2 separate regions of the Homo sapiens genome follow, and region 2 is linked to region 1. Evidence: promoter capture Hi-C in human tissues and cell types (Jung and others, 2019). All regions are on one chromosome and are shown on one strand. Each heading gives the region's core, a stretch centred on a gene start or on the middle of the fragment in contact. The rest is flanking DNA. Distances are from core to core; before and after follow the strand shown. Region 1 holds the start of VWA3B (von Willebrand factor A domain containing 3B). Region 2 holds the start of LOC105373501 (a long non-coding RNA gene).

Region 1 (7,485 bases), core at 3,519-6,018:
ATAATGCAATCTTAACCCGCTCACCACAAATGGGCAGGGCCTGGTGACCTGGAGGAAGTGTAGAAAGTTCTGCTTACTTCTGTATCCAGAATTCACAATGCATGTAAACTGATACCCTGAATTGTAAAACTTTTTAACAATGAAAATAGGTTCTTTCCCTATTTCTAAAACTTTAACTGTATTTCCTAAAAGTTTCACTGTCATGACATGGAAATTCAGTCAAACACAAAAATCAGTTGGACCAAGTCAGGGAGGTTTTATAAAAAGGAGTTAGAAGTATTATCATTAGCAAGCACTTATTTAACATCATGTTATGTGCAATTTACATTTAATCCTTATAACCTCATGAGGTAGGTACTACTCTTATTTTCATTTTACAAATGAGGAAACCAAGACAGAGAGGGGTTAATTAACTTGTCCACAATCTTACAACTGGTAAGGGGTGGAGTTAAGATTCTAAACCAGGCCATTCAGCTCCAGGATCTGTGTTCTGTGATCTTTAGTGTAATAGAAGCAATGCAACAACTTCCATTTGTTGGTCCTTTTATACGCACTAGCTCACAGCTTCTTCATACCATATCAGTTACTCATTATTAACACGCCACTTACATGTGAGGAATCGCAAGCTTCGAGGATTTAAAGAACTTGCTCACAGGTTCTGCCACAGCCAGTGAGAAAAGCAGGAGTCAAAGCCATTTCTTAACCACTCTGCTATCTTTACAATTAACCTCCTCCAGCCAGGTCTTATGGGACAAGGCAATCTGCATTCCAGTAGGACTGCATTCTAGTAGGGCCCTAGGTCCTCATCCGGAACGCTAATCTTTATTCTCAGAGCTCAGACTCAATAAGCTTCTTGGCTTATCACTCTCAAACTTTTAAAGATAATGAGGCTGGGTGCAGTGGCTCATGCCTGTAATCCCAGCACGTTGAGAAGATCGCTTGAGCCCAGGAGTTCGAGACTACCCTGACCAACATAGTGGAGGACTCATCTCTACTAATTTTTTTTTTTTAATTAGCCAGGCATGGTGGTGCATGCCTGTAGTCCCAGCTACTCGAGAGGCTGCAGCAGGAGGATTGCTTGAGCCCAGGAGTTCGAGGTTGCAGTGAGCTCTAATTGCACCACTGCACTCCAGCCTGGGCAACAGAGCAAGAACTTGTCTTTAGCGAGACTCAGTCTCAAAAAAAAAAAAAGATAATAATTTCCATTTCAAGGTTTATGTGAATTTGTATTGTCCACATATGTTGAGTTGCAAAGGTATACAAATTATTATTGGTGAAGATCTGGCTTTCTTTCTACAAAGGCTCAATTTGAGGAGAATATTGCAATATTACTTGGAGAGCATCACGTAGGAGTGGAAAAGTTTAGAATCAAAACTCAGTATAAGCCCATTCTGCCACTTTAAGGTGATTCCACCTCTCTAGGATAGTAATACCACCTGCACACCCTAACTCCCAGGGCTATTCAAGGAACAACTGTGCTGATGTATAAGTTATGCGTGGATAAGCACTTTATATGTTGGAAACAGCTATGTGCAAATAAATGATCTAAAAGTCATGGTTCTTTAGTCATTGTATTTTGTTTCATGAGACCCACTTTCATCCCAAGCACTTTTTATCCCCAAGTCTCCAATCATACTGAGCTAGAAAGTTTAGAATCACAGAACATGAAAACAAGGGCAGACTAATATGCCTCAACTTGTTTTTGAGGATCTATCCACAAAGACTGGAGCTGAAAGAAAGTCTTTTAAATTTGGTCAGTTGTTCCAAGAAACAAGAAAGGGAAGCTCAGAAGAAACTTTTTTCTTTACTATTTCATCATTTCCAATTAATTTTTCTCTTCCCTGAAACACACCCACCTCCTACAATATTCTTGCTGAAGGGAGTACTAGGTTTAAAAGGGAGCACTTTTACATAAACTGCCCTAATAAGATTTTGTAAAGTGGATTTGGGAACCTTAAAGAGGGGTTCAGAATAGTCACAGGTGTTGTTTTTAAGCTAAAGGGACATGTTTTTGATCCCCAAAAAAGGCAATCAAAACTTCTCCAGTATAGCTAAGGTGCACGCCCCAGTCCCTTTTGCACTCATATGACTTTTAAAAAATTAATTTTTAAAAAAAGTGTAATTGGCTCTACTGGATCTGAGAACCTGTACAGTCCAGTCTGATTCAGATCTTACCTCCAGCGTTTTGTAGCCTGAGAATATTTGTATTGTCTGAAATACAAATGGAATATTTGTATTGTCTGAAATACAAATGGAATATTTGTATTGTCTGGAAAAAAAAAAAGGAAGGAAAGGGGGAAAGGGAGAAAAGCCATCTCCCAACAGAAGGAATTGTTCCACTCAAGTGGGATAGGAACTGTTCTATCAGAGCAAGGAAGCCTGCTGCGAGCCGGGACGTAGCCCCCTTCTCCCCACCCCACCCCCACTAGCCCGCCTGCTTTCCCACCTCCAGGTTGGTCTCAGACGGCTCTCCTATGCAGACTCTTAGCCTGCAAGTCTCATTTCAAATGCTGCCTCTGCCATTAAGCCTCCCCGAAACCCCTTCACAACCTTCCGCAGCCCCTCCCTGGGAAAACCCTAACTTTTGCTATGATACTTTATCACTAAGGTCTTAGGCACTTCAGGCTTGTCCTCACTAGACTTAAAGACAGTTCAATGACTACGGAGACAAACTACAGGAAGATTCTCAGCACAGGGCCTCATACGCAGCAGGCACTTGGTGTGAGAGTTGAGATGAATAAAACTGATCACTCAGAGCTACTAAGAGAATCCTGATTTTGTTCAAAGAAGGCAAATATCCACAGTGTTAATAAGGCTAATATCAGGAAACAGCTCTTTTAAAAAAGGGATATATTGGCCGGGCACGGTGGCTCACTCCTGTAATGCCCCCTTAAAGTGCCAAAGTGCTCTCTTGGCACTTTGGGAGGCCAAGGCGGGCGGATCACCTGAGGTCAGGAGCTTGAGACCAGCCTGGCCAACATGGTGAAACCTCGTCTCTACTAAAAATACAAAAATTAGCCGGGCATGGTAACACACACGTGTAATCCCAGCTACTAGGGAGGCTGAGGCAGGAGAATTGCTTGAACCCAGGGGGCAGAGGTTGCAGTAAGCCAAGATTGCACCACTGCACTCCAGCCTGGGGGACAGAGCGAGACCCTGTCTCAAAAAAAAATAAAGGGGGATATATTATTTTCTGATAAAACTATGCTATTTATTTATTTATTTACTATTATTCAGAGTTTCCTCAGCTGAGGTTATTATAAATTGGGGAACCAAGTAACCCAGAAGTCGGAAACAACAACATACCGGAGTTGAGCATTGCCCTAAGTTTTAGAGGCCATCCCAAGAACCATACATAGAGTTTGGATAGGAAAGTATTTCCTTAGAAGAAGGAGGAAGTGTAAAAGGAAAAACAAGGAAGTGAAAGTCTGAGCTGAAAATGTGGGCAGGCAAAGCTTTGGGGAAAATAGAAAGGTTAAGCTGGCAACTGTACAAGGGCCCCGTCTACTGGAAGCAGATGCTCCTGGGCTGCCCTGGGCGACAGTCTTGTGAAGTCAGCATGCCCTCAGAGAAAAGGTCCTATGTGCTCGGAGGTTCAGGGACAGTGCAGGGTTGAGAGTCCATTAATCCAGTTTAGACATTCAATAAGCTTCTAGCTACTTTATTATCAACACCCCAAACTTCCTATACCCCTGTTAGTTTCTGAAAAAGAAGTCTGGGCTAGGTGGATATATATCTTGTGATTTAGGTGAATTTGTGAACGATGATTTTTCCAGGAAGAAAGGAAACTGGGACGAAGCTTCATGATGGATCCTGATGCAACTCTTCCCCAGAAACCCTTAAACCTCCTCCCATTTTTTCTGCCCTTAAGGGACAAGGCTTGGCTGTGATCATTGGCTCAAATAATGTGGACAGAGACAAGGATATTGAAACGGACTGTCCCACCGTTGAGAAAATAGTCAAGAAGGCAATATCTGAGAATAATTGGAGTGCTTTAGGAGGAAGGTCATTGCTGAGAAGAAACAGAGCTTCCAAGAAAATGAAAGGAAAAGCTCTACCAAATGGAAACTAAATCTACTTATTAAGTCTTATTTCCATATAAGGAGGGTGAAAGAAACTGATATGATTGTGAAACCATGTAAGTGTTGCTTTGGCTTTTAGACTATACATATTTATCCTTATGTTCAGGAAATGTGTTTCTTCTGGTTCCCATGTTCCCTCCAAAGCCCAGGTGGACTTCATCACCTTGAACTGCTGGCCTATGGCATAGACAGAAACTAGGAAAACCGCTTTTCCACCAGAGCGGCTGGGCGTGGGCTCGGGTGAGGTGTGATGGAAAGAGCTCTAGAGTAGGAGGGGTCGGTACCTTGACCCTCGGCTTGCCCTGGGTAGCGGACGATTAAGTGGGCCAGGGCAAGTCACCGAGCTTTCCTGGTACTGTTTCCGCATCTGTAAAGTGGGCGTGTAGTCCACCTCAGAAATGGCATTTTTCCAAGACCTCCCTAGGCCGCTTGTTGGAAGGCTCGGCACCTCGGCGGCTCTCGTGCGGCAGGCATCGCTCCCACACTTACTAGGCAATATGTCGGGTGGAAGACGTGGCGGCTCCCGCTCAGCAGCCACCCTCCCATCCTCCCGGGCCCGCCTGACCCGAGAGGGCGGGCGAGGTAAGCATCCCGCTGGTGGATAAGGCAGCGATTCCGGCGGGCGAAGGCTGCGCGCCGGGGGCGAAGGATTCCAGCTGTTCTAGGTCTCTGTGACCCGCGCCTCTGGTTCCGAGCGCGGTCTGTTGACGACGGCGTCTCCGCGGTTGCCTGGACACGGCCAATCACAGCGCGGCTCCTGGAGCCGGCCCCGCCCACAGACCGCGCCCTCACTGGGGCGATGGCTGCGGACCGTGGCCAAGAGGGCGGGGCGCCGAGGCCGTCACCGAGCCAGGTGCGGAAAGCCGGCGTCCGGAACCACCCGGGCCGGGACGACCTCCACCCCAGACCCCCAAACAGAGGCCACGCTAGAGGGACAGGGCGAGTGGCGTTGCCCCTTGCGCCTACTGTCAATGGGAAAATTAACAACAGCGGAGAATATGAATGAAAGAATGAATGAATTAACAAACAAATACACTGATGAGCTGGGGTAGAAATATAGGGTGCGAGCAGACAGGGGAGGAAGGCGCCAGAGGCCGAGGAGAGGCGAGGAGACTGCGGGAAACGCTACAAACGAACTTCTTTTCATACTTTTCAGCAGAGCATTGACCCCTGTGTAGTTTTAATTTTCACCTCACCACTGTCAGGCGATGCTCTCTTCCTTGCACAGTTCAGAGAAAGACGCTTTAAAAGAGGTGGGGCAGTTCGTTGTAGCTCAGCCACTGGACGTGGGCGGAGCTGAGACAGACAGAAGGGACAGGGAGCTGCAATTTTGCAATTGTGGAGGCAGGGGCTGCAGTTGCCAAGAATATTCTTACCTGTTTGACATGAATATTTCTATAGGCATTATTTTCTCCATTCAGCTTTGTTTTTAACCTTTGTTTCAGTGTTACCTTATCAATTAAGCAAAAGGCTCTAAATATTTTCCTATTTTTCCAGTCACCAGGAAATAAAATTGTGCTTATGAAAAGTATCTTTAAAGTCTTAATAAAAGACCCCACAGTAAGTATTGTTTTTAGGGTATTGGGATAGTAAACGATTTTAGATTTTAAAATTATAGAACTGACCAGATCATTTGCAGGTTTTTCAAAGAACTAATAAAACATAGTTAATGTTAGAACTGAGTAATTCTGTCCCCCCAAAAAAAGTCTGCTTCATCCACAGGAATTTATTTCTCCTGCATTCTTTTAATGCCTCTATCATTTAAAAAGTACTGAAAGATTTCATTCCATATCACAAATCATTCCTGGCAGTTATTAGTTTATATATATTTGGCCCTGCAAATGAAACCTGCCATCCACACCACCAAAAAACAAGCAAAAGCTTGATAGTACTGAAGACTGTTCAGAAGGGAGTAAAACACCAGCCTCGCCCATGTTTGCCAATGACCCATTAATCCTTGCTGTCCACACCCTGCCACACTAATATTCTTGGGTCACGGGGGTGAGACAGAGCACACAGCAACACATAGCCAAATGCCCTGCCTCACATGGTCACGCCAGGCACTCTTGTTCCCACCTTCACCCCATGCCTGCTCCTTTCCCTAGGACACTTGCCACATACGTGCAAGTCACCAAGATGATCTGTCCCTATCTTTCGTGTTTATGTGTCTATAAGCATACATTCTGTTGAAAATGTGAAACATTACTTACTTAAATTGTAGAATGATAAGTGAGTAGAAGTTTAAGGTTATTTTGAAGCATTAAATAGTTGGTATGGACTTCAGTTTAGCTAGTTACAGAATGGTTTGCCTCATTTTTATTGAGTTATTTGAAATAAGAAAACCTTTAGCACAGTGGTGATACACTACTATACTGAACTTTTGACAAATTTGTTTTGAGTTTACATTTTTACAGATAATTTGTATCTTTCCTTAAACCTCAGTAAGCGACATTGATCAAATCACTGCCATCTTTGATGTCAAACTTCTGGACTTTACCATTAAGGGCTCAAATTATACTTTCAGACTTTTGCTCATTGCCTCCAACACAAACCCCCATCCCAGAGAGACCCACCTGGTCCCTGCCTCTGAGCACAGATGACTTTACTCAGGCCACCCAGATTACCACAGTTTGGGAATCACCGTCCCTTCAGGGTCAGCTCTAGCTCTTCTCTCTCTCCCCAAAGCCCTCCCATGGATGCTGCGGCCCTAATAACTTCTCTCTACCTGTACAGTCTCAAAGCATTGCTTGCCAGTACCACACTCTTGGCAACCATGTACAAGCCTTTGACAAGCCTTTCGTTGTTATTTGACCTTTGTGCTGTTTACTTTTCAGGTTCAATGGGTTTTCCTTTTCTTTATACAAGTCTATCACTGCCACTGCTTGGGCTTATGGCCATGATCAGAATGTTTGGTGGAGGAGGGAGGGTGATAAAGGAAATGAAGGGAGGAAAAGCATTTTCCTAAGCCCACTGCAAAAACTGGAACCAGAGGAGACGGAGAATGTTAACTCCTTGTATATATGTGTGAGAAAGAACCTGAGCTGGAATTAAAACAGAGGCACTCCCTCTGAAGAGGAAGGAGAAACTGAGAGAGTGAGGCAGTTCCTGCTGAACCTTTGTTAGCTCTTGTGGTGAAGGGAGTTTTCGCCATCAGGGGCAGCCTTGGGAGAGGTAGGTGGGGACAGGGGCCATCACGGGGAGGTAGAGCTCAAACAGAGGTTTCTCTATGCTGTGATGTTCTTGAGTTCAGCATTCATTATTTGGGACAATGAATGTAGACTCCTGGCTCTCAATCTAACATCTTTGATGAGGGTCAGAGCTTTTTTACTACCCTTGGCAAAGACTACGTTCACTTTTACCAGACTGAATTAACACTTAATCATAGCTAGAATGTATTGAATGT
Region 2 (7,485 bases), core at 2,279-4,778, 36 kb after region 1:
AGGATGCTGCTATAGAAAAAGCTCATGAAACTCAAAGGCACAGAGACAAGCTCATGGCTGCATTATGAAGCTTGCATAGTCCCAGGAGAGCGGATAGCCCTCTTAGCAGATTCAAATTCCACTCTCTCTAGAAACATGAAGTAGCAGCCTACTGTGTACAAGAAAGCCATCAGCAATGAGGTAAGGTTGACCTTCACAGCGCAGCCCAAACCCTGAGACCTCATGGTCAGAACAACAGGAACGTAGTGTTTTCATGATAAGGTGTGGGAAGGTAGAAATCAGTCATGACACAGAAGCCAACCACCACACAGGAAGCCCCCAGTCCACTGGTGGCCCAGCAGGGTACAATGGATCCAGATGAAATTGTCAGGATCTGTGGCAGTTTGGCCACTTTGGCGGAGCTTTAAAATTATTAATCCAATTTCATGACATTTATAGAATTATTTAACTTATCAATTTCATAATCGGTGAACACATTAAGGATTGTTCTTTCTTCTTAGAGAGTTGGCCATTTTGTTATTATGTAAGTTTGTCTTTATTCCTGATAATTTTCCTTGCTCTGAAGTCAGCTCTGTCTGAAATTAATGTCACCACTCCAGTCTTAATAGGTTGAATCTTATCCCCTTGTTACAGGAAAGGGGTCCTGATCCAGATCCCAAGAGAGGGTTCTTGGATCTCACACAAGAAAGAATTCAGGACAAGTCCGCAGTGCAAAGTGAAAGCAAGTTTATTAAGAAAGTAATAAAAGGAAAGAAATAAAAGAACGGCTACTCCATAGACAGAGCAACCCTGAGGGCTGCTGGTTGACCATTTTTATGGTTATTTCTTGATGATATGCTAAACAAAGGGTGGATTATTCATGTCTCCCCTCTTTAGAACATATAGGGTAACCTCCTGACATTGCCATGGCGTTTGTAAACTGTCATGGTGCTGGTGGGAGTGTAGCAGTGAGGACAACCAGAGGTCACTCTCGTGGCCGTTTTGGTTTTGGTGGGATTTGGCTGGCTCCTTTACTGCATCCTGTTTTATCAGCAAGGTCTTTATGACCTGTATTTTGTGACGACCTCCTGTCTCATCCTGTGACTTAGAATGCCTTAACTCTCTAGGAATGCAGCCCAGTAGGTTCAGCCTCATTTTACCCAGCTCCTATTTCAGATGGAGTTGCTCTGGTTCACACACCTCTGACATTTCCCCCCACCCTTTTTATAAACCCTTAATCCTAAGGCTTGCAGAGGCATAAAGATCCGTCTTCTGTAACTTCTTCATGCTGAATAGGGGCAATGATATTCCTGCCTAACTATGAGGGCCTCTTGCATTCAGGGTAGAGAGGAGCTCAGTCAGAAAGCATTAGTATGGTAAGGTCCATTTATAACTTTTGAGTTTCAACAAAAGGTGATATTTGGAAGATTAATAAATGTTTAATTTAAGAAAGCATTCAGTAAGTTTGTCCTGTATTCCTACACAAAGAGTATTTGGAAAATTAATAAGTGTTTAATTTAAGAAAACATTTAGTAAGCTTGTCCTGTATTCCTACACAAAGAGTATAACAGCAATATATTTCACAAGAGTAAAGGAAAATAAGTAAAGTTATTCCAAGTAAACTAAATTAGAAAGCTTTTCATGAACTGGGCAACTGTTGGAACTAAGCTGATATGGGGTTGTTAGCTGATTGTAATGTGCCCAGAATTAGAATACTGATCCAGATTTTTGCATTACCCATCTCTCTTGTTTCTTCTGAGCAGCAGTTAGACATCAGTGGTTGGTTCACAGGAATATGCAGTGTTAGACTAAATTGCAGAAACAAACTTAAAAACAACTGATAAGACTAGAATCTAATACAAAGTATACCAGTTTTTGAAATGTAATATTTCTCTCTCCAGTTTCCTATTTTTACTAAAGACAAATCATGGTAAGACCGATTTGCTTTATTATACTTGGCCTGATTATTTGTACAGCAAGAATAATTATTTTTCACATAAGCTCATTTTAAATTGGCTTTGAACTCTATTCCATAGAAGGAATTTCAGATAAGACTTCTTTTTTTTAAATTGAGACAGAGTCTCGCTCTGTCGCCCAGACTGGAGTGCAGTGGTGCTATCTCGGCTCACCAGAACCTCCACCTCCTGGGTTCAAGTGATTCTCCTGTTTCAGCCTCCCGGGTTGCTGGGATTACAGGCCCTGCCACCATGCCCAGCTAATTTTTTTTCTATGCTTTTAGTAGAGACAGCGTTTCACCATATTGGCCAGGCTGGTCTCAAATTCCTGACTTCCAGTGATGTGCCCACCTCGGCCTCCCAAACTGCTGGGATCCACTTTGCTCTGCCTCAGGTAAGACTATTTTACAGCCGAGCCCAGCCATGGGTTTGCACCCTCAAATACCTGAGTTGGGTAAATTTTTTTCCTCTCGAGGTCACAAGATAACTTGGGGCTCCATGACCTGTCAGAAAGTGACATTCTTTACTCACCACAGGTTAGAAATTCTGCACAGAGACTGTTTTAGGCAAGGTATGAGGCCAGTCCCCCAGGGGGCTTTTATTGGCTCTATATGTTAGGTTTAATACCCTAAAGGAAAACATGCTGTTCCAGTCAAAGCCTTAGCAAAATAACCAATGTCTCCCGTTGTGTCCTGTTACAAAAGAAAACGGATTTTTATTGCACCTATGCAAATAACTATATTGCCATAAGTTAAGAATACTTACAAACAGTTTCCAAATTTTAGAGAAATTAAATACAAAGAAATAAAAATAAATATGCTCCAAATTCTGTTCATAGGAGTACACTCAACTGTTAAAAGCTGTAAATAGCTCAAAAGAAAAGTTTCCTTGACTCTGAAAAACAAAACAAAGGATCAGCAATGTTTTAAGCAAAGTTAAAAAGATTAGACTTCTTCAGTTTAGTCCATATAGTTAACTTCTGTTTGATAGTTATGAATATTTCAGTTCTCCATTAGAGTTCTGAAAGTTTTTTCCTTTATTCTGATGACACAATCTCCAAAGTTATCAGAAAACCTGCATTTAAGAACACCTATTAGAGTTCTATAATTGATTATAAATCACCTTTTAAAGAGGATTAAAACGAGGTAACGATTGGGCCAGGCACAGTGGCTCACACCTGTTATCCCAGCACTTTGGGAGGCCGAGGCAGTTGGATCACCTGAGGTCAGGAGTTCAAGACCAGCCTGACCACCATGGCGAAACCTCATCTCTACTAAAAATACAAAAACTAGCTGAGCATGGTGGTGGGCACCTGTAATCCCAGCTACTCAGGAGGCTGAGGCAGGAGAATCACTTGAAACCAGGAAGCAGAGGTTGCAGTAAGCTGAGATTGCGCCATTGCGCTCCAGCCTGGGCAACAAGAGAGAAACTTTGTCTCAAAAAGAAAAAAAACCAGGTAACAATTGTCTATGGCTGACAAAATGTTTTAGGGGAGCCACGATCAAAGAAACAATTGACAAGGAAATTTGTTACCTCCATGGCATACAATGATTTTATGTAACGATTATCATTATTACTGATAATGTACACTAAGTCATATCAGAATTATAAGAGTTTCCCATGATTTTGGAATATATATACCAATAACATATTTATACAAATATGGCCCAAAGAAAACCAAACACCATTTTATATTTGACAATGCTCCCTGTATGATTTTTGTACCAAATAAGCCAAATGTCACTGTTGCATTAGTGCATTATCAATGTCAAACCCAATTCTTAATAAAACCTTATAAATATATCGATCCAATCTTAATCAGTTTGACCATAAGGTAAGATTCTTATAAACCTTTTATAACCCTTTACAAGTTTTTGTTAAATAGCAGATCATAAGCAGGTTTTTGCTCTAAGAAAAATCTGTTGTGCTTTTATTCCAATTTTTAATTTATAGAAAAACTGAATAATACTCCTTTAATTTAGCCAATGTCCACACACAGAATCTCTTTTACAATTAATTTTCTACAAACCCTCCACAATTGTTCAAACCTTTATTCTAACTTAAAACAATTCTTTAACCCCTTAGGCAAAAAAAATGCACATTCCCATGCCTTCTTGTAATCTTTCGCCAAAAACACATTTTACTTTCTTTACACACCTTGCATGTAAAATTTTTTTTAGTAGTTTTAGTTACATATTATAACGTTAACTTTTAGCAACTTTTATTTTTGGTGAAAAACTTGGTAAGTTCGGGATTTTAATTATATACAAGGTGTGGCGCCTAGCCTAGGACACACCAGACAGAAGTGTAGATAAGAGCTGACTCTCCAGCATAGCTAGGTTGCATGACTAACTCCACATGTCCCCAGGCCTTACCTAGCTATAAAGCAGGCAAGTTGTACAGCAAGAGTCATAGTGGCATTTTATGAAGCATTTACAAGGCTTAACAACCTTTGAATTGTATGACATTTCTTGCATAAATTCCCTTTCACAAATCCTTTCATGACTTACACAGACCATCTGAGATATTATTGGACTTTCTGACCTGCCCTAAACATCCCTCCTGTTAGACAACCAGTCATTTTACTTTAGGACAAGAATTTCCCATACAAGATCCTTTCTTACATAAAATCCCTTTCTTAATAATCTTCTTTGTATAGCAAAGGGGCATGGCTAATTCCACATGTCCCCAGGCCTTATCTAGAACCTCATGGCTTTAAGGTAGGTAAATTGAACAATTTTGGAAAAGTTAAAGCAGCAGTTTATGACCTTAAAGCCTTTAGCAAACTTAATATCTGACCTGCATAATTTAGACTAAATGTTTTTATTTTAACAATAATTTTAAAAGCTGTTTTTCCCAAAGATTACTAAAGTTATATGAACTAAAAGGCATTACAGTTTCTATTTTGCTTTTAAAATATTTGATGTAAGTGCTTATTTTTGTTTCAGCCAATTAATTAGAGCTCTTATATATAAACATTACACACAACACATATGTAGCTACAAGAAAGACAGAAGATTATACTACAGTAGTTGTAAAATTTTTCATTTGCCAGTTTTTAAGTTTCTTCATTGGATTACTGGCTTTAGGATGGAGCCCCCGGAAGAACAGGGCCAGGAAAGTGGTCTCTGTTTCCTCCTGTTTTTCCCAAGGAGTCTAGGCTGTTAGAGTTTAACTATCCGCTTTTAATAGTACTGATTTTAACCATAGCACTCTTTAATAAAGTCCTTTTAGAATTTCTTATGCCAAACGGCCGATATTTCTGACTTTTGAACTTTACCAAAGGTAACCTCCCAGGTGCTTAGAGAAAGGAAAATTTAAGACAGTCCACAGAGGAGAAGAGAATAGACAAGGTCATGCAGGTATTAAACCAGAAACGACTTACTTCCTAGGTGGGGAATTGAACCTGGACCGCTACTGTGAAAGCGCAAAACCTTAGCAACAGAGGTGCAGCATGGGACAGCCTCTGTTTCCTTCCCCAGACGGAGTCTAGAGTAGTTAATTTTGAGCTTGTAAAGGCTTTTAACTTTTTAATATGATTTTTAGCACTAACTATGACATGAACCCTAAAATTTCTGTTCCCTGGAAGGCAGAGACCAAGAGAAAGTACCGCCATGTGGTTAAAAGGTCAAGCTCCCAAGGACATAAAATAAGGTGGAAACTTCATCCAGTTGTTTTTTGTTTGTTTCAGGGACCTGCAGCCAAGTTCGTTACGGACCAGCTTGCTGAGTTGTCTTGAAAAGCGGGCTTACAGGTGTTCTAAGCCCATGTTTTATCCTGAAGTTCCCCTCGACAAGAAAAACGAATTCATAGCACAAAGTACACCAGTTTAAGACTAGCCTTAGAATTCTTTTTTGCATTAATCCAAACAGAAGAGATTTGTTTTACCATTCCTTCAATCGTTCCCACAGAGAGAAGTCAGAAATCTGACTGGTAAGAAATTTTTACCCTTTTGCCGGCATGCCAATCTTCTGGGTTCTCTTTCTCTGAGCAGTCCTAGTGATCCAGCTTGTGGCACCATCACCCTGGGGCCAAGCCACATTATAAAGGAATTTTTTTTTTTCATTCTGGCCAGAGCAAAATACATGTGATAAAACACAGACATTAGCCACTCTGCTTAGCACCCAATATCAAACTGGCAAGGCTTAAATTTTCCCCCAGATGAGTCCCATCATCTTTAATCCAACCTCCGACTTGGAGTATCAACATATGGTCTCTGGGCAAGATGGTCACCCTGAGTGACAGAAAATATAGGAAAGGAAAAGTAGAGAAGGAAAGTATTACCTGTGGTAGGGTGGGGAAGGTGAAGAGCTCAGGGAAGCCAGAGAAAACGCCCACTCATTGCAGCCGACAATGAAAAGTTCAAGGCCGGGTGTGGTGGCTCGAACCTGTAATCCTAGTACTTTGGGAGGCCGAGGCGGGTGGATCACCTGAGGTCGGGAGTTGAAGACCAGCCTGACCAACAGGGAGAAACCCTGTCTCCACTAAAAATACACAATTAGCCTAGCGTGGTGGCGCATTGCTGTAATCCCAGCTACTCAGGAGGCTGAGGCAGGAGAATTGCTTGAACCTGGGAGGCGGAGGTTGTGGTGAGACGAGATCGTGCCATTGCACTCCAGCCTGGGAAACAAGAGCAAAACTCCATCTCAAAAAACAAGAAAGGAAGGAAGGAAGGAAGAAAGAAAAGGAAAGGAAAGGAAAGGAAAAAGGAAAGGAAAGGAAAAGACAGGACAGGACAGGAAAGGAAAGGAAAAGAAAGGAAAGGAAAGGAAAAGACAGGACAGGACAGGAAAGGAAAGGAAAAGAAAGGAAAGGAAAGGAAAGGAAAGGAAAGGAAAGGAAAGGAAAAGACAGGACAGGACAGGAAAGGAAAGGAAAAGAAAGGAAAGGAAAGGAAAGGAAAGGAAAGGAAAGGCAAGGCAAGGCAAGGCAAGGCAAGGCGCGGTGGCTCACGCCTGTAATCCCAGCACTTTGGGAGGCTAAGGCGGGAGGATCACCTGAGGTCAGGAGTTCGAGACCAGCCTCAACATGGAAAAACCCCGTCTCTACTAAAAATACAAAATTACCTGGGCGTGGTGGTGCATGCCTGTAACCCCAGCTACTTGGGAGGCTGAGGCAGGAGAATTGCTTGAACCTGGGAGGCGGAGGTTGTGGTGAGCCGAGATCGCGCCATTGTACTCCAGCCTGGGCAACAAGAATGAAACTCCGTCTCAAAAAAACAGAAGAAAAGAAAAGCTCAGGTGGCCGCTTTTCAGTAGCAAAGGGATCTTTTCCAGCAGTCCCATCAGCTCTTAAGTTTCCCCTTTTAGGGAGGAAAAAGCTCCGCATGTCCCATGATCCTGTACATGCCTAACCCTGTCACCCACAGCCATCAGCAAAGAGTGCAAGGCAGATTAATCCAAAGAGAATAGCAGTTAACATCCCGTAGTGCCAAACCTGCTTTTAGCCGAGAAGGACTTATACTGAGAGGGGCCTCTAACTTCCTAAATCTTAGAAGGGACTCTAACCCTCCTAAGTTGGGCCTCTAACCCAAGGTCGGTCAAGCGTCCTT

Evidence for each region. The method cuts DNA at HindIII sites, captures the fragments that hold promoters and counts their contacts. A contact is called where the count stands out against the background at its distance.
Region 2: a contact is called between a fragment that was not itself captured here and the fragment with the promoter of VWA3B in region 1, in 1 of the 25 tissues and cell types used here (pancreas).

Annotation. Positions count from the first base shown.
Region 1 is chr2:98,084,450-98,091,934 of GRCh38, reverse strand. It overlaps VWA3B (von Willebrand factor A domain containing 3B), which reads right to left and starts at 4,768. Exons shown (of 28, transcript NM_144992.5): 1 at 4,572-4,768. RefSeq lists enhancers at 4,039-4,539, 4,574-4,643, 4,540-5,040. The HindIII fragment of the contact is 7,495 bases long and covers 2,153-7,485 here.
Region 2 is chr2:98,047,133-98,054,617 of GRCh38, reverse strand. It overlaps LOC105373501 (a long non-coding RNA gene), which reads left to right and starts at 2,219. Exons shown (of 3, transcript XR_923092.3): 1 at 2,219-2,328; 2 at 5,626-5,867. RefSeq lists enhancers at 1-463, 6,308-6,808, 6,809-7,309. The HindIII fragment of the contact is 3,926 bases long and covers 1,566-5,491 here.